Linked DNA regions of Homo sapiens: region 2 is linked to region 1. The links are contacts of gene promoters, found by promoter capture Hi-C in blood cells and fetal thymus (Javierre and others, 2016). All regions are on one chromosome and are shown on one strand. Each heading gives the region's core, a stretch centred on a gene start or on the middle of the fragment in contact. The rest is flanking DNA. Distances are from core to core; before and after follow the strand shown.

Region 1 (5,162 bases), core at 1,134-3,633:
GAATACAGAAAATTTCATTTAAGAAGACTAGTGTTCATATATTTGATTTCTAGTCCTCTTTCTGAAGTGTTGTTTCTGCACTTAGGATAGCCCCATGAGTCCAGGTGTTGACAAACAGAAAGAATCAAGTTTTGGAAAACCTAAACAGAAACATCATCACATTCAAAAACTAAAACTGAGAAATTAGATACTGATCTGAAAATTGCTTCCCTTCTCTAATAACCATAGCTACCACTAACTCGCCTCTCCTCTCCCCATCCCAACACACTCAACTAACCGAAAAAAATGTACGGATAATTCATGCACAACATGCAAGAATTCTTTGCCCAAATTTTCAAGCTAACTACATTCTTTGCCCATATTTTCCTACTTGAGTATAAGAAGGAAAAATATAGGATGGAAGCTAGTCTTTTGAAGTCTACTACTTGCCAGGTACATTGCTAGCAATTTTACACACGTCATAGCATTTATTATCCATATTTTGCCAATGAGACAATTGAGGCTGAGTTTTAAAAGATGACCTAAGGCCAAAGTCTTTGGCTCCCCGCTCCACAACTACCCTCAGCTGGAGTTTGTTCCACAGTTCAGTCGCTCATTGAGAAAACATTTATTGAGGGTGTATTACAAGCTAGTCACCCCTCTAGGCATTGGAGGTCACTCATTGAGAAAACATTTATTGAGGGTGTATTACAAGCTAGTCACCACTCCAGGCATTAGAGTTTTGAAAGTATGCAAGACAGAACAAGCCCTGCTACTCTCATAGAACTTACACGCTAGAGATGAAAGAAAACAACCAAACAGGATAAGTTCAGAGTTATAATAGTTTGCCAACATGAGTTATGCACAATAATCATCAAATCTTTTAAAATATCTACAATGAGATTAAATAGTTACAAAAAAAACTAAAGGGGGTGGTAACACTCACTAACAATTGGTAACACTGTGGCCCTTTTGTCAATTCCTGAACCAAGCCATTGCATCTTTGAATGAATCACAAGGGAGAAAGAAGGAAGCAGAGCTCTAATGCTGTTTAGAATTTCTTTATAAAATAAAGTGACTCTATAAGCTATGAGAATGGACAGTTGCAATGAATCCATTGTTGGTTCTCAAACCCAAAACCCCATATTTACCCATTTATTCATTAAAATATTGCTGTATTATTTCACGAGTTGATTTGTAAAAGTCAAGGGAGTGTTGTAATTTGACATAACGCCCCTGTGAGAAACAGAGGGGGGTTTCAACATCCACATCACAAGGTTCCCCAGACTGCACACGGTCTCCATTGGGCAATGGCATCCAGATGTCATGTGGTAGCCAGCAAGAACTGTAGGACTGGGACTAGAGTGGTCAGTAGCTACGAAGAAGTGCCTGGGCCCAGTGTGACAGCTGCCAGCACCGTCCACACGCCAAAAAGAAACTTCACATCTCTTTAAACTTGGAACACATGCAAAATACTAACAGTTTTGTTTTAGCAATAAAGACTCCCTGTCACTTACTAACTTCCTTCCCTCACCTATTTATACAAGTATAAGTTGACTAGCTGCTATTTCTATAGCTGCCTCCTATGATATTTATAATGTGTTGTGTGTGATTTGGGTTGCCCATGTCACTAACACTTTGCAAGAATTTGTGTTTGTAAATTACTCTGGAACTCTTCTGGGAGTGAATATTCCACTGCACAAGGTGGAAGCCAGACTAGAGACCATCTGCTAAGAGCAGCACTTCATTCACCCAGCTACACCTTCCTGCCAAAGCACTCTTTGCAAATCTATTTTTGCTGGTAGAAGTTACTACATAGGGAGTGGAGGCTGTTTTAAGTTATCAGTGTGCACCTTCCATTTCCTCCTAGGACGGTCACACGCCAGCAGCTGAGTTTCTCAAAGAAGCCTCAGCCCTCCTCCAGACTCGTTCTCACTCTTGCTTCGGAAGGGAGCAACAATCCTTATCAGACTAGCCGCATCTACAAGCTAAAAGTTTGCATGAACTTTCAATGGGGTACCAACCCTCGCCCCAAAAGTCCTGCCACTTTACTATTTTACAAATGCCGCCTCCAAAACATAAACAACGAAACCCTAGAGAAGAGCGAATCCATCTTCTGCTGGTGGGAAGAAATTCTAAATCTTTCCCGTTTCCCGCCACCACCTACCGCCAAGACTGGAGTCCCAGAACACTCGCCCGGGTCAGAAAGGGACCACTCCCCCCCTAGAATACTAGAGGCGGGGGAAGGGGTCTCCCAGGAAGCACACACCTGAGATAGATCCTCACGCGCGAGGGGCCAGCGGGCAGGAGCACCCAGTTCCTCCAGCCAGGGTGGAGTCGGCCTCCCCCCAGAATCAGAGCCTCGGCCCGGGTGCTCCCAGCGAGGCGCGCGGGGCTGTCACTCGAGGCGGGCTGGGCGGGTGTAACTCGAGCGCCGGGCGGGCCGCGCCCCCGCCTTCCCTCTTCCCGACTTCCTCCTCCCGCTCCCGCGCCTGCTCCCTCCCGGAGGCCTGACCAGGGCGGCGAGGCCGCCACCTCCTGCCCGGATACCTCGGGCCCAGGCTCCTCCGGCCCAGCGGGGAAACGCGGAAGTGGGGGCGGGAACCGGGGCCGGGGTTGGCGGGGGTGTGGGAGGGAAAAGCCAACAGCGGGCGGCGAGCGAGGTGGTCTCCGTGGCCCAATGAACGTGACTAGACGGGGACGCGGGTCCTGCCGCCGGGTGGGGTCGCGCAGCGCCACACGCAAGGGCCCTCGCCCCTGGCTGCAGTTCCTGCTTTGTGCCTCGGCGATGCCGGACTCCAGACCTCCGCCCCGCCTTGCCAGCGGGCTGGCGGACTGGAAAGCCTGAGCTAGGCCAGGCTGGGGAAGACGGTGGCGGTGTCCGATTTCCTGTGCCCTCGCCCATGCGGGCCGCCCTGGCCATCTGCCTGCGGGAGAGGAGACACTCGTCCGCCGGCACGCTGGCGGGGCTGGCTTACCTGACGACTTCTCGTTGTCCGCCCTGGGATCTGGCTTCTCCTACTCTGTACCTCCCGGCCGGCAGGCTTCCCTAGGCCTACAGACGTGTCCAGGAGGCGGGCGACCCTGCGACCCCGCCGTCAGAGCCCAGAACCCTCGCCCGGCTCCCCCGGCGGGCTCTGGAGGCGCGCCAGGCCTCCTGGCTCCCCGCCTGAATGTCAGCGCAGGGACCCGCAGGGAAGACCAAGCCCAAGCTCCAGGGGGTGGAATGCTGAGCACAGGTTCCCCAGACCCAGCCTCATACAGGTGGGGGGAGGCGGAGAGCCCCGGCAGCTGAACAGCAGGCTTCCCACTTGCAACCCCCCGCCACCCAAAAAAAAAAAACGACCCTGCCCACTGAGCATGCCCAGCTTACTTGTTGGAACTCCTAGGGCTAGACAAGCCCAAGGGGACCTAAGGAAGGCAAAGTTGGGGCTCAAATGGACCCCACTTCTTTAACAGCTTTGCTCCGAAGACCTCTGGGTGCTGTACTAATAACCTTTCTATCGTGGTATTGGAAAATATCCAGGAGATGGACGGAAATGCCTTTCCAAAAGAAGGAAGAAAATTAGTGTGAACCAAAAAGCAGTGGTATTTTTTTAAATAAAGTATTAAGTCACTCATTTAATGTCCTTAAATACCGCAGAATTCCTGTAGTTGACCCAGAGGAATGCATATATTTATTAAATCCCAAACTCAGTAACTTCAGGGAACCATCCATAGTCCACAGAGGAGCAATGATTCTCACCCTTGGACACATTAAAATTGGGGGGAGGGGGCAGGGAGGGGTGGAATGCCAGATTTCCATCCCCAAGTCCAATGAGTCAGTCTGGACGTGGGATCTGCAAGTCCTTGTATTTTAAAACTGGCTCTAAAAGTGTAGTCACTGGAGCCCGCAGCATCAGCATCACCTGAGAACTTGACAGAAACTGTACTCCAGTGACCTGATTCATAGACTCTGGGGCTGGGGCTGAGCTACCCAGATTTAACAAGCCCTTTGGGTAGTTCTGATGCACATTAAAGTTTGAGAACCACGGTTTAAAAGCTCCCCCAGTTGAATCATGAGCAACCAGAAAAAGGAAATTGTAGTTGAGAAAAGAAAAATAGTTCAGAGCATTTGAGCAATGTGAGGTATGCAAAATTTATCAGGCCCAGAGAGACCTTGAATATGGGACATAAGTTGCACCCCCCACACTCATGCTCAGAGGCGATTGTTTAAAGGCATTTTGTTCATGACTGACTACCCAACCATATCTTCATGTTCCTGGAATTTGTGATACGAAGAACAATCTATAGACAATTAATAGTTTGTTTTTTTATGTAAATTATTGGTAAACAATTTAGAAACTGCCTCTTCTTTTCCTTTAAAAACTTCCTTGTGGCCGGGCAGGCGCAGTGGGTCACGCCTGTAATCTCAGCACTTTGGGAGGCTGAGGTGGGCAGATCACGAGGTCAAGAGTTCAAGACCAGCCTAACCAACATGGTGAAACCCTATCTCTACTAAAAATACAAAAATTAGCCGGGCATGGTGGCAAACACCTGTAATCCCAGCTACTCAGGAAGCTGAGGCAGGAGAATCACTTGAACCTGGGAGGCAGAGGTTACAGTGAGCTGAGATGGCACCACTGAACTCCACCCTGGGCAACAGAGTGAGACTCCATCTCAAAAAATAAATAAATAAAAACTTGTGACTGGGCAACATCATGAGACTGGTTATATTAAGTATGCCTCAGTTCTTTTTTCTTTAGTTTGACAAATCAAACCAATATTTTTATCATTTTTTTCAAACCCTCATCATTTATCTAGAAATGCAACATGTTACCCAGAAAAGGAATAATCTGGTTGAGTTGGGTGCCAGTCCTGGATTTCCTTCTCACTGATTATCCCAGATCAGTTCAGTGCTTGGGAAATGGGACCATCAGTTACTCACTTTTGTACTCTAGTGCCTAGCATAGTGCCTGAATATAACTGATGTTTAAATGTTTCTTGATTTGAAATGAATGCTTAGGTGAGCGATCTGGTCCAATCCATACTATGTCAGCTGATTATTTTCCCCACTAGTCCTAGTCACACTGCTAGCTAGTGTAACCGCCCAAGGGGTTCACCTTGCCCGCTGCCTAGACAGAGTCGATTGATCAAGACAAGGGAATTGCAAGAGTAATTCACGCAAAGCCAGCTGTGCGGGA
Region 2 (5,162 bases), core at 713-3,212, 3.7 Mb after region 1:
GCTGAGGCTGGGGGCGAATCGCCGCAGAGCTGCGTGTCGGCGGCGCATTCTGATTGGACAGCGGGGAAGCCCGTCAGCCTGTTGGCCCCGCTGATCCCGCCCCGTAGCGCAGGGCAGCCTTTAACCTTTAGCCCCAGTGGGCGCCAGCCACTCAGATCGCTTCTTGTTGGTATGTGTAGCGGCAGTGGCCGCCGGCGGAGCAGTCTGAGCCCGACGATGAGGCCGGGGACGGGAGCTGAGCGTGGAGGCCTCATGGTGAGTGAAATGGAGAGCCATCCTCCCTCGCAGGGTCCTGGGGACGGGGAGCGGAGATTGTCCGGCTCAAGCCTCTGCTCCGGCTCTTGGGTCTCTGCTGACGGCTTCCTGAGGAGACGGCCCTCGGTAAGGGATCAGTGGGGCAGGGGGAAGGCGGCACAATGAAAAACGGAGTGAGAAACAGGAAGCTTTCTCCGAAAGGAGAAGAAGATAAGAGTGGACGAAGGAAGAACTCGAGATGGTGGGATATGTTCTGAGGGAGAGAAGTGGAGGGTGGAAATGCACAAAGAGAAGGATGTGAGACCCTGGAAGTTCCCCGTGGGCTTGGCCTAGACAGATGCGTGGTGAAGGTGCTGGCTCTTGGGCGGGGTGAGCGTCTTGGAGCTTTAGGCCCGATTTTAGCTGGGAGGGGGAGGCAGGGGCTTGATACTGTAAGACTTTAACAGCGGCTGCCAAAATTTGTTTTCATTAGTCGTCGGGGTGGTCTGCAGGGGGAACTGTTGGGACAATTGGCAGGAGATAATTAGGTGGTTTTAATTTAAAACATAGAACAATGGACTCATCGGTAAAGAAAGTAGTTGTCTTTTTAAACTGCGTTAAAAAGGATGAATTAGTTGTTTGCATTTAGTGTCCGTGAGTGACAGAACCTCAGTCTTTGAAAATGTATTTTTGGCAGAAGGAATTTTACCTGTCTTAAAGGTTATGTTAGGAAATAAGTTTGTTAGGAGTGAATTGTGCCTGGGTAGCCATACTGTTTGTGTTTTGTAAGACCGACTCTCACCTGAGTTAATTGGATAGAGCATTTTAAAGTTTAAAATCAGTAGTGTTATAAAATAACAATAGCTGGCTATCTTTTATATCTGCATGAAATAGGAGAGTTGTTGTTTTCACCATAACAGTTTTAAAATTAGTATTCAATGTGTATCCTCCAAGCTTAGCAAGCCAATTAGTAGCTGGTTAAGTCAGTGCTTAAAAAAAAGAGAGAGAAAACCTATGATCCAGCGGTCCAGGATTCATCTTAACTTTTCCCATTTTTTTACGGAATTTGCAAGCTCGTTTTAAATACTAGCAGAATGCGTTTTGTTTGAAACAAGGTATAGACTAATCCAATGATGTTATTACACATAAGCTTAATATTATGTCGCTTCAGATAACTGATCTGTTGAAATGAGATTTTTGAGAAGCATTTAGTATTATTTGCTCATTTAAAAATGTTCACTGTTTTTCAGATGGGGCACCCTGGCATGCATTATGCCCCAATGGGAATGCACCCTATGGGTCAGAGAGCGAATATGCCTCCTGTACCTCATGGAATGATGCCGCAGATGATGCCCCCTATGGGAGGGCCACCAATGGGACAAGTAAGACTGTTTTTGTTTTATTTTGCATTTATTTATTTGTTTTTGCCTCAGGTATTCTATCAAGATTTCAGAATCTAGGTCAGTAGTTATAGCTGTTTAATGATTAGTTTATGCCCGAATAATTTCAAATAAGCCAAATGTTAAATCATGACTGTAACGGAAATTTGAATAATGGAAAAGTCTTCTGAGAAATTTAAATAATGAAAAAGTCTTCTGAGAAATTTACTGATGACCTCAAAACTAAGAATTTTTTTCTTTATTATTTAAAAGTAAAGTGTGGATCCAGGCTTTTATTTTTAATGATTATTTTTTCAAGAATGCCAATTGAAGTTGATGGTCTAAGTAAATATTATCTGATACAGCAACATAACTGATTTTGGTAGACCATGTAAATAAATAGAATCTGAAAATAGCTATTGTTTTGGTTTAGAGCGAATTTTATTCCTGAAATATCTTCCTCTTTGTGTGTTGGAGGAGGGTGAGGGAGGGTGGGGAGTTTGTGCTCTATAATTCTGATTCTTCATAGGACAGTGCCAATAGGTAGTTCATTTTCCACTTATACTATTTTTTTTTAATGCTTGTTGCTTCTACACTCCTGCTTATGAGCTGTCCCTTCCATCTCTAGCATAAATTGTAAATGGACATTTTGTAGGAGTGATTTGGATCAAAAGGTTTTAATGCTGATTCAGTGATTTCGGTAGAACTGAGTTTCTAGAGAAGCATCCAAGAAAGGTAACAGGTTCAGTTACCATGAGTAATTTTGTGCTTCATGTTAAGTTCTATAATAGATCTTTAGGTGGCTGGGTTATTTCCATTTGAGTATTTCCATAAATCATCAAAAATTTAGGCTAACAAAATATTTTGGAAGCCAATTTCATGTGATCTTTTGCTAATTAGTACTGTTTGATAATTGTTTAAGCTTTCATGGTTAAAGTTATTGGTGAAATTGCAGTGGGAAAAGGAGCTTGCTATGTGTCTGTCTCTTTTTACTTAACCTTAAGAGTAGAAGGGCTTAATGTCCAGTGATTTTCCTCTTTTTTTTTTTAATTTGGAATATTGCCCTTAATTTTGTTAAAAAACAAAACAAAACCTTTATTCAAAGGCACCAGCCCCAAAAGATTCTGCTTGCAGGAGTTCTTTAAATAAAAGAGCCTTTTATTCTGTTACTCTAGAATAACACAAATTTTAAAACTCTCTAGGTGATGGAGAAACAACTTTGATTCCTCTTCTGTTTCTTTCCATCTCTAAGGAGCAAGGAGCTCTTCTTGTTTTCTTGGTAGAGCTGCTCTAACTAGATAATGAGCTTTAAAAATATTTATTCTTTAAATGCTCTGGTTCTTATTTAAAATTAGTTTCTTTCCACAGAAAGATAAAATAAAACAATTTGCTACTGCCAGATGCTTCTCTCTTTTCTGGGGCCTTCTGTTTCCATTGGGCCAATCAAGGTAAGTTTTGCAAGGGATTGACCTGCTTACCCTTGCTGTAATGGTGCTATTGCACTACCAAAACCAAGATACCAGCTAGTCATAGTTCTAGTTAAAAAAAAAAATGCAGATTTTATTTTTTAAAAGTACTTTCATGTATCTCATTGACATAAGCTGGTCACAGTTTGCTTTATGGCCCTTTCTCTTTAGCTGTATCAGTGACCATCTTTCTAGTAAGTTTACTTGCTACTCGGTACACATCCATTCAAATAACTGATTTTTTTGGTGTGGTTTTCTTCTACTTTTTCCTAGGCTAATATATGCCACGTGCCTTTAAGTAGACCTAATTATTTAGATGTTTAGAATTCTTCTCCCTCTGAAGGCTCCTGTTAGTATAATAAATAAATGTTTTAGTAGGAGTTATGCCCTGAAAGTCCCAAAAGAATCTCCGCTGTTTTTGTCAGAATTATATAATTCCCTTTTATCCCCTTAATATTTCACTAACAAATATGGGTCCCAAATCTTGGTAAAACAAATTCTTGTTTTAGCTTTATAACAGACTGGGAGAGCATGGATAATTTGAATTCTCAAATCAGAAATCATATTTGAAACTCTGTAAACATTGCTTTAAAAATTAAAGGTGATAATAAATAGGACAATTGATCCTTTTTCCTGCATTATTTCTTCTGCCACTCTTGGAAGTACTCAGGAGGAATAAGTGGTCAGAAGATAATTGAGAAGAAGCAGGATGTCTGTCTGTATCATTCACAGTAGTGACAGTTGGGAGGGTTCTGCCATGCAATTTAAAAAAGTCAGTTCACAAATTCTTTAGACTTTGGGACTGAAGGTTATAAAAACCTTCATGTGTTGACTGGTTTGCATGAACATCTCATGCTGGGACTAGCTAAAGACTAAAATTGGTGGCAGTCTTACTTGCCAAATAATTGTGGTCTTTGGAATGTTACCAATATGACATGAAACTGTAAAACTTGTTTGTAAAATAATATGCAGACTGGGTAGCATAATGATGTACGGAAGCCAGGGTTCATAATTTCTCAAATGCATCAAGCTATTTAGCTTAAAGAAGTGGTGTGTTCAAATTTTTTTTTTCTTAATTCATGAGATGACCTAGAGTGCCATCTCATGCATTTAGGCTGACTCTTAGTAGTAATAAATATTTGATGATTATCAAATTGAGCTTAATATTCTTTCAGGTTTATTTCAGTTTTCTATCTTGTAGATTAAATTTGCCTCTTATTCTATATAACTTTATAGGAAAGTCATACTTTTAGAGTTATAGGATCTTATAGCTGAAAGGGACCTTACAGGTTGTTTAAGCTTTAAATAATATGTGATTTAAGATGCTTTGAGGATCACTGGTTAAATGTTAGTAAAGAAAGATAAAGAATTTTCCCTGCTGGATGGCAGTACTCAAAAATTTCCCATTGGGAGGCTGAGGCGGGTGCATCGCTTGAGCTCAGGAGTTGGAGACCAGCCTGGGCAACATGGTGAAACCCCATCTCTACAAAAACTATTTAAAAATAAGCTGGGTGTGGTGGTGTGCGTCTGTCGTCCCAGCTACTTAGGGGGCTGAGGCAGAAGGATTGCTTGAACCTGGGAGGTCGAGGCTGCAGTGAGTCAAGATCACGCCTTGCACTCCATCCTGGGTGACAAAGTGAGACCCTATCTCAAAAAAATAAAGATTTTCTGTAGAGATTTCTATCAATAAAATTATGTGTGAGGCTGTCTTCTTCCTCAGTGTCCATAGTAAATACTGTTTTCATGTCTTTTGTGTTTTCTACACAAAGGACATGCAGGTCCTGCCATCTTTATCACAGATGATTATGCCTTTGCCCCAGAGTCATGCTAGCTGGCTCTTTTTTTTTCCTCCCTATTTGAGTCTTTATTTTCCTCTATCAGTGAGAAGAGTAGAGTAATTGAGTTAAGGTCCCTTTCAGCTCTAACATCCTATGATTCAGTTCAGATCATTTGATAAGAGTAGATATCAGATTTTATGGGATGATATGGAAAGAACAGAAAATTCCTTTAGTAATGCCTCCCTAATTCTATTTATTCAGTGCTTTTTTTTTTTGGTCTTTGGTCAGTAAACTGATAAATGAAT

The links. Contacts are between HindIII fragments. The CHiCAGO score rates a contact against its expected background, and 5 or more counts as called.
Region 2: a contact is called between a fragment that was not itself captured here and the fragment with the promoter of GPD2 in region 1, in 1 of 17 cell types (M0 macrophages). The highest score is 7.0, in M0 macrophages.

The regions. Positions count from the first base shown.
Region 1 is chr2:156,433,600-156,438,761 of GRCh38, reverse strand. It overlaps GPD2 (glycerol-3-phosphate dehydrogenase 2), which reads right to left and starts at 2,383. Exons shown (of 17, transcript NM_000408.5): 1 at 2,249-2,383. RefSeq lists silencers at 2,262-2,671, 3,112-3,281 and an enhancer at 2,822-2,871. The HindIII fragment of the contact is 5,965 bases long and covers 1-5,162 here.
Region 2 is chr2:152,712,449-152,717,610 of GRCh38, reverse strand. PRPF40A (pre-mRNA processing factor 40A) reads left to right here and starts at 150. Exons shown (of 26, transcript NM_001365597.4): 1 at 150-381; 2 at 1,485-1,616. The coding sequence starts at 172. RefSeq lists an enhancer at 151-450. The HindIII fragment of the contact is 1,151 bases long and covers 1,387-2,537 here.